2 separate regions of the Homo sapiens genome follow, and region 2 is linked to region 1. Evidence: promoter capture Hi-C in human tissues and cell types (Jung and others, 2019). All regions are on one chromosome and are shown on one strand. The core of a region is centred on a gene start or on the middle of the fragment in contact, and the rest is flanking DNA. Distances in the headings are between cores, read along the strand shown. Region 1 holds the start of MARVELD3 (MARVEL domain containing 3). Region 2 overlaps AP1G1 (adaptor related protein complex 1 subunit gamma 1).

Region 1 (4,386 bases), core at 879-3,378:
AATTCCCTAGGGACTCTGCCTAAGGCCTCTTCTCCATTCTACTTTCCTCCTTTCTCTACTCCCACAGAGCATCTCCAGCCCAATCCTCTCCCCATATTTCAGACTCATATATTCAACTGCAACTAGACATCTACACTTGGATGAATTATAGCCATCTCAAATTTACCATGTCCAAAATGGAACTCTCTAATTTCCCCGCAAATCTGGTTCTGTCCAGTCTCCCCCGTCTCAGTGAAAAACCCCACCATTCACCTGGTCACTCCTCCCCTCCCCTCATTTCCCCACATCTGATCCATACTGTAAATTCTTCCCCAAAACTACAACCTGGATCTGTCAACTTGTCACTGTCTCCATGGCCACCGTCACCCTCACCTGGACTCCTTCAGCAGCAGCTTTGTAACTCATCTCTTCCCTCTACTCTGGGCCTCCATCATCCACCCTCCTCACAGAAGCCAGAGTGGTCTTTCAAAAATATCAATCAGAAAGGTTTACTCTCCTCCTCAAAATCTTCAATGTTCTCCCATTGTTTAGAATAAAAATGCACACTGTCGTCTACACCATCTGCCTGGTCCACTTCTCCAGCCTCAATTCATGCCCACCAACTCTACTCCCAGGGACCTCCTTGTCCAGCTCCCGCGTTCCTCAACCTTCTCTCTTTCTGGGACATTTTCTCAGCCTTCTTGTCATCCAGAACTCAATTCAAACGACATCTTCCCAGGTCTATATGAGGAAACCTGCCCTTCCCATTAAACTTTAGACACTGTCTTCTTTGTTTACTACCTGTTTTCCCTTTTCCTGACACACTAGAATGCAATCACCCTGCAAGCAAATTTTCCACTATATCTCCAGTACCTGCTAAAGCAGGTGCTCATACATATTTGCTGAAAGAATTAATTACCAGATGGCAATTGTATATATTTTGTAATATCCTTACTTGGCAGAATTAAAAGCTGCCAATTTTGTGTAAGTCCCCATTTTAAAAAACAGGGCTATTTGTAAGCCCAGGACTATTGTGATAGATGAACTGGCTGCAAGCCCCTTACAACATAGGTGTTATAAGGAAAACAGGAGAAGGGAGAAAGAGGGACAGTGGATGGGTGGAGGGAGAAGTGGAAGGTGGGTGACTGGGTGGATGTGTGGGTAGGTTAGTGGCCAGATGGATGGATGAATGGGTGAGTGGATGAATGGTGGATGGGTGGATGCGTGGGTGGGTGGCTGGATGGGTGAGTGGGTGGATGAATGGGTGGATGGATGGGTGAGTTGGTAGATGGGTGGGTGAGTGGGTGGGTGGATGGGTGGATGAGTGAATGGGTGGGTGGATGGATGGTGGATGGGTGGGTGAGAGTGGATGGTTAGGTGAGTGGGTGGATGGATGGGCAGGTGAGTGGGTGAGTGGGCGGATGGTAGATGGGTGGGTGGATGGGTGGGTGAGTGGGTGGATGGGTGGATGGATGGATGGAGGGTGGGTGGGTGGGCGGATGGGCAGGTGAGTGGGCGGGTAGATGGGTGGTGGATGGGTGGGTGAGTGGGTGGATAGATGGATGGATGGGTGGATGGTTAGATGGGTAGGTGAGTAGGTGGATAGGTGGATAGACGGGTGTATGGATGGGTGAGTGGTTGAATGGGTGGATGGTTGGACGGGTGGGTGAGTGGGTGGATGGGTGGATGGATGGTGGATGGGTGGGTGAGTGGGTGGATGGGTGGGTGAGTGGGTGGATGGGTGGGTGAATGGATGAGCGGGTAGTGGGTGATTGGGTGAATGAATGAGTGTCTGGCTGAGTGAGTGAGAGGATGGGTACCTCTGGGAAGGTAAATCCAAGTTGCAGTGTAAGTTGAGCCAGGGGAGGTGGCCACAGTTGGCTCCCTTAGGCCGCCCACCTCGTGGGGTCACCAAGGGGTTACTTCGGGGCAGAAAGGTGCGGCTGTGGGTCGCCCCGCCCGGGTTTCCAGCAGCAGCACCCCAGCCCCCACCCAGCACACAGGCACCCCTCCCGCCCGGGCCCCAGACGCGCTCAGGCCGCCCCCTGAGGGCGCCCGTTCTCAGGTGAGCTCCCGGACTAGCGCGCATGCGCACAGGTGAGTGCCCGCCCCGCCCCCGGGCTTGGCCACCTGCCCAAGAAACTTGTTGGTTGTTGCCCTCAGGTCGCTCCCGGGCGGGGACACGGAACCCGGCCATGGAAGATCCGTCGGGGGCTCGCGAGCCCCGGGCCCGGCCGAGAGAGCGGGACCCGGGACGGCGCCCCCACCCAGACCAAGGCCGCACCCACGATCGACCGCGGGACCGACCCGGGGACCCGCGCAGGAAGCGAAGCAGCGACGGGAACCGGCGAAGGGACGGGGACCGGGACCCGGAGAGAGACCAGGAGAGGGACGGGAACCGCGACCGGAACCGGGACCGGGAGAGGGAGAGAGAGAGGGAAAGAGACCCGGACCGAGGCCCCCGCCGGGACACACACAGGGACGCGGGCCCTCGCGCAGGTGAACACGGAGTTTGGGAAAAACCGCGCCAAAGCCGGACGCGGGACGGAGCCCGGGGACTGACCTGGGACGCAGCCGCGCCTCCTGGGCCCGCGCCCTGGGAAGCCCCGGAGCCGCCGCAGCCGCAGAGGAAGGGAGACCCCGGGCGCCGCAGACCCGAAAGGTGAGAGGGGCCGGGGCGCTGCGACCTCCGCGCCGGGGACACCTGTGGCCCAGGCCGGCCCGCGAGGCCCTGGCGTCCCCGGGTTCTCGTCCTAGGAGCCCGTTTAAATGAACAAATGCCGTTTCTCCCTTCTGCGCTCTCAGAGGCGACCTGGCAGGGAAGGAAAACTTTAGGGTTCCCCCTTCTCGTGGCCTGAACCCAACTAACAAAGCAAAAACCACCCCTGTGAGCAGTGGCTGGGCTGGAGGACCTGGAGAAGAGAAAGAGAGGCCCCGGGACCCGAGAGGGAGGGGTGGGAGGAGACCAGGCGGGTGGGGTTCACCCCAGGCTCCTCCCCGGCCCGGCCCGCATGGTCACAGGACTGCGCCTTGGGGTTCAGACCCTTGTCCCGTGTTCCAGAGCCAGCCCTTCCCGACTCCAAAGTCCCCTTCCTTGTGGCCGGGCCGCCCACTTGGGAAGCCCGATGAAGAGTTAATAGTTTAATGTGTTACCCCTCCCAGGAATAGGTGCCTTCAGAAACAGGTGGGCCGGCGCGGTGGCTCATGCCTGTAATCCCAACACTTTGGGAGGCCGAGGCGGGCGGATCACCTGAGGCCAGGAGTTCGAGACCAGCCTGGCCAACATGGTGAAACCCCGTCTTTACTAAAAATACAAAAACTTAGCCAGGCGTGATGGCAGATGCCTGTAATCCCAGCTACTTGGGAGGCTGAGGAGGGAGAATCGCTTGAACCCGGGAGGCGGAGGTTGCAGTGAGCCGAGATCGCACCACTGCACTCCAGCCTGGGCGACAAAGCGAGACTCCGTCTCAAAAAAAAAAAAAAAAGTCAGATGGGAGACGCTACATTTTTAACCAAAGAACAAAGTCTACGTAAAATTCTCCCACTGAAGGGTACAGGTTTGTTTTCCCTTTTGCCAGTGAGGTCTCTCTAGGCAGCGTCATTCGAATCCCACGGCTGCTTGAGACCGCACCCTCCTAATGAAAAAACTTTGCCATCTCTGCCTTGCACAGAATTCCCATAGGCCCCTTGTAAGGAGAAAGGTTCAGGGTGTACTGGAAGACTCTGTGAGCTAGGGGAGGGTGGGGGGGGAAGGGAAGACAAGAGGGGACCTGGTCCCCACACCGCCTCCTAGGGACCTGGTGTTTTTTCCATCCATTGAATACCCAGATAATGTGCCCCACACGGTGAACTGTGAGCAGATGGGATATCTCCCCTGCCAGCTCCAACAGGAGACAGGTCCGAGGTGACGACTGCTTCTGGTTTTTGACACCTGGCCTCTCCTCTAGGGAGGAGTCAGGCTCCCCTCTCCCAGGGACTTGGAGGCTGAGTCCAGTCTGTCTCCCTGCTATGTCCACACAGCGGGAGAGCTCCTATCCTGAGTTTATGTTACATTATCTAAAACTAACTAGCATAACAAAGGGTGCGCCCAGATACAGTCAAAGCTTCGCCCAGGGAAACAGCTGTTGTTTCCCTGACTAAAGCCCATTGCACTTGCAACTGCAGGACCTGGGAGAATTCAGAGCTGCATTTTTAGGTTTCTTTAAAAACCACTGTCCGAGCCGGACGCGGTGGCTCACACCTGTAATCCCAGAACTTTGGGAGGCCGAAGCGGGCAGATCATTGGAGGTAAGGAGTTCGAGACCAGCCTGGCCAACACTGCGAAACCCCATCTCTACTAAACATACAAAAAAATTAGCAGAGCGCGGTGGCGCACGCCTGTAATCTCAGCTACTCGGGAGGCTGAGG
Region 2 (4,386 bases), core at 817-3,316, 160 kb after region 1:
ATTGACACAGAGTCTCACTCTGCCAACCAGGATGGAGTGCAGTGGCACGATCTCGCCTCACTGCAACCTCCGCCTCCCAGGTTCAAGTGATTCTCAAGCCTCAGCCTCCGGAATACCTGGGATTACAGGTATCTGCCACCATGCCCGGCTAATTTTTGTATTTTTAGTAGAGATGGGGTTTCACTATGTTTGTCAGGCTGGTCTCGAACTCCTGAGCTCAAGCAATCTGCCCGCCTCAGCCTCACAAAAGACTGAGATTACAAGTTTAGTCACCGCACCCAGCCTACAATTATTATTATTATTATTATTATTTTTATTATTATTTTGAGATGGAGTCTCGCTCTGTTGCCCAGGGTGGAGTGCAGTGGCGCAGTCTTGGCTCACTGCAACCTCCACCTCCCGGGTTCAAGCGATTCTCCTGCCTCAGTCTCCTGAGTAGCTGGGATTAATAGGCGCCTGACACCACACCTGGTTAATTTTTGTATTTTTAGTAGAGACAGGGTTTCATCATGTTGGCCAGGATGGTATTGAACTCCTGACCTCGTGATCTGCCTGCCTCGGCCTCCCAAAGTGCTGGGATTACAGGTGTGAGCCACCATGCCCAGCCGATTATTATTCTTATTAATACTCAAATTATCTCTTTTGGGGGTATGACTGCCTCTTCTGGTGATTACTGAAACCTTCTGACATGATCTTTGCAGTCTTTCTTGCTTTCTGGCATAGTAACATCATTCAAGCTTATTTTGTACATTTCCTTACCCTGGATTTGGGATCAGCCATCTTTCCAATGGGCTGAAAATAGTATCTGGAGACCACAGTCTAGGCTTAAGGATAGCTCATTGCTTCTGGTCTGGTCATTAATTCTAAGGCTTTTCAAGGAATAGTACTAGCTTAAGTACTTTATTTTAAGAAAAAAATTCCTTAATGTGAGAAAGCGTGTCTACTAAACCCTATGACAGTCACCCACATATTACTGTAGAGCATTTGTTTACGGCTTTAACAAGAGTGGCTATTATCATCACTTATTTGCAATAATGTACTACCTGTACAGTGTAATAAGAAAATAAGAAAATGTATAAGGATATCAAAGGAAAAAAAAGAACTGCCATTGTTTGCAGACAATAGTAGTATTGACTACATGGAAACAATGACGTCCACAGAGACTCTTAGAACCAAGTTCAATAATGTGGCAAAGTAGATAAATATTATTAAAAATCAATTATATCACTACAGATCTACAACATAATTATTTAAAATTTTAAAGGATACTATTTGCAACAGAAACAAGAGCTCTAAAGAACCTACAAATATATTTCTCCAAAGATGTGTTAAGACTTAAAAATCCTGTGTTTTAAAGGAAATTTTTTTTTAATTTTTTAAAAAGATGTATAAGACTGTACAGAAAACATTGTAAAATTTAGAGAAGCTAAAGAAGTGCAGTCCTATGCTACACAGATGGAAGGGAAGAATATCCTACACAGGTAATTGGGTATGGCAAGCAAGGCTAGAACTGAGGAAAAACAGAATCAGGCCCAGCCTAAAAGCAGCACACTACTGACATATGGAAATGTAGATTTCCATTCCACAAATCTTACTATGTTTCTAAGAGAAACTAGAAGTCCAGATTTCTATGGAAATTCTTTTTTCTTTTTTATGTACTGGCAGAAACAATTTTAAATACCACACAGGACAAAAAAGAACACATCTGTGGAAGAATTTGGCCCCGAGCCACCAGTTTTCTACTCCTGCAATCTACCTACTTATCTTTAGATAATTCATTAATATTTCTGGGTTGTGCTTAACCTACACACGCAAAAGGTTACACACACTACAGGAAATCTATCACCACTTTTGTTATAAAAATGCTGAGGATACTGTCTCTTACATTATTAAGAGACTCCTAGACAAAAGGTCCATATAAAAAATCTCTTAGAATTCAGTGCTTCAAAAAACATTGCCGTCCTTTAGGAAATGGTAAAATGCATAACATGAGGCTTTTTATATACAAAATGTGTCTAACACTTATAACTTAATCTTCATAATAACACTATAAAGTAGGCATTAAGATTGTCCCCATTTTACAGATGAGGAAACTGAGACACAGAAAGGTTAAAGATCTTGCTCAAAGCCAGAAGTCACATCCAGGCAATCTGGTTCTCTGCAGTTTTGCTCTTCCATCTTGGCAATAACAACTACCTGAGAGGTGACTGTCTCTTTTCTTGCCTTAGCTGTCGCACCAACAGCAACTACACTGGCCTTATGCTCTAAATGCTTCCTTTTTCCAACTCTTAATTTCTACTATTATTTTTCTCTTTAATGTAGATGCTGGTAGTTTATGCCATCTCAAATCCTTTGTACAGCAAGGCAGGGCTAAGATATTTTTTTGTTGTTGTTGTTTGAGACAGAGTCTCGCTTTGTCGCCCAGGCTGGAGTGCAATGGTATGATCTCGGCTCACTGCAACCTCCACCTTCCAGGTTCAAGTGATTCTCCTGCCTCAGCCTCCCAAGTAGCTGGGATTACAGGCACCCACCATCACGCCTGGCTAATTTTTGTATTTTTAGTAGAGACAGAGTTTCACCATGTTGGCCAGGATGGTCTCAAACTCCTGACTTCAGGTGATCCCCCTACCTTGGCCTCCCAAAGTGCCAGGATTACAGGCGTAAGTCACCGTGTCCATCCTACCCCTTAAGTTTTATTGCAAAACTTAAGACTTTTAAAATATAGCTACTAGAAATTTTTAAATTTCTATGTAGCTTGTGTTTTATTTCTATCAGCACCATACTAGATACTGTAGTAAAAAGTTTTAAAAAGGTGAAATTAGTTTTAATAATATTCTTTAATCAATATATCTAAAATATCATTTCAACGTATGATCAACACAAAAATTATAATTAGGTATTTTACACTTGCTTTTGCACTAAAGCTTCTATATACAGTATGTACTTTACACTTACAGCACATCTCAATTTGTACATTTTCATCAGAAATAGCTAAACTAAAAAGAAAAAAAAAGAAATAGCTGAACTGTATTTAGATTTCATAAAATTTACTATTTATAAAGTAGACTCACATACCCAAGTTGTTTAAAACATATTTAAAAGTCTTCCAATAACTAGGCTGGGTGTGGTGGCTCACACCTGTAATTCCAGCACTTTGGGAGGCCAAGACGGTGGATCATTTGAGGTCAGGAGTTCAAGACTAGTCTGGACAACATGGTGAAACCCTGTCTCTACCAAAAATACAAAAATTAGCCGGGTGTGGTGGCAGGTGCCTGTAGCCCAGCTACTCAGGAGGCTGAGGCAGGAGAATCGCTTGAACCTGGGTAGTGAAGGCTGCAATGAGCCAAGATTGTGCCATTGTACTCCAGCCTGAGTGACAAGAGCGAAACCCTGCCTCAAAAAAAAAAAAAAAAAAAAAAAAGTGGGCTGGGAATGGTGGCTCACGCCTGTAATCCCAGCACTTTGGGAGGCCGAGGCGGGCAGATCACGAGGTCAGATCGAGACCACCCTGGCTAACACAGTGAAATCCCGTCTCTACTAAAAACACAAAAAAATTAGCCAGGCATGGTGGCAGGCGCCTGTAGTCCCAGCTACTAGGGAGGCTGAGGAAGGAGAATGGCGTGAACCCAGGAGGCAGAGTTTGCAGTGAGCTGAGATCACACCATTGCACTCCAGCCTGGGCAACAGGGCGAGACTCCATCTCAAAGAAAAAAAAAAGTGGCTATTATTATACACTAAATGAAAATGGCACTGTGATCATACGTGCAGGTGACAAAATCTAGATATGAACCTTTTAAAGGCATATTATAAAGGTAATTCCAACGGATGGGGTACCAAATTACTGATATGAACAAGATGGTGACTCATTGAAACAGAGGAAACAGAATAAGAACTTAAAATTATGATTCCCAGTCCCATTCAGAAAAATATTTTATGATAAAATTTTAGCACAGTTTTCTCGAGCATTTACTTTCTAAGAATTAAATATTTTATCAAATAATTAAGTCCCAAAATACCCCCAAATGCCACCTAACCTTAAAAGCACATTCTATTTAAACATATTAAAGAAATGAATCTTAGAAAATATAGAGAGATTTTTTACAAAATGAAATATCCCCCAAAGTCTTAAATCTACTCTGATTCCAAATTCAAGAATTTGCCCTTAGTCCAGGGACTGTGGCTTACACCTATAATCACAGCACTTTGGGAGGTTGAGGCCCAAAGATCACTTGAGCCCAGGAGTTCAACACCAACCAGGGAACTGTGGCAGAAATCCAACTCAACAAAAATTTTTTTTTTTTGAGAAAGAGTCTCATTCTGTTGCCAGGCTGGAGTACAGTGGCACGATCTCAGCTCACTGCAACCTGTACCTCCCGGATTCAAACG

What was found. Contacts are between HindIII fragments. The study calls those that stand out against the background at their distance.
Region 2: a fragment that was not itself captured here is called in contact with the fragment with the promoter of MARVELD3 in region 1 in 1 of the 25 tissues and cell types used here (mesendoderm cells).

The regions. Positions count from the first base shown.
Region 1 is chr16:71,624,056-71,628,441 of GRCh38, forward strand. It overlaps MARVELD3 (MARVEL domain containing 3), which reads left to right and starts at 2,129. Exons shown (of 3, transcript NM_052858.6): 1 at 2,129-2,641. The coding sequence starts at 2,175. RefSeq lists a silencer at 2,950-2,999. The HindIII fragment of the contact is 11,141 bases long and covers 1-4,386 here.
Region 2 is chr16:71,782,179-71,786,564 of GRCh38, forward strand. All of the region lies in intron 2 of AP1G1 (adaptor related protein complex 1 subunit gamma 1), which reads right to left. Among named protein-coding and RNA genes, the nearest start is that of AP1G1, 24 kb to the right of the region's middle. The HindIII fragment of the contact is 4,378 bases long and covers 1-4,255 here.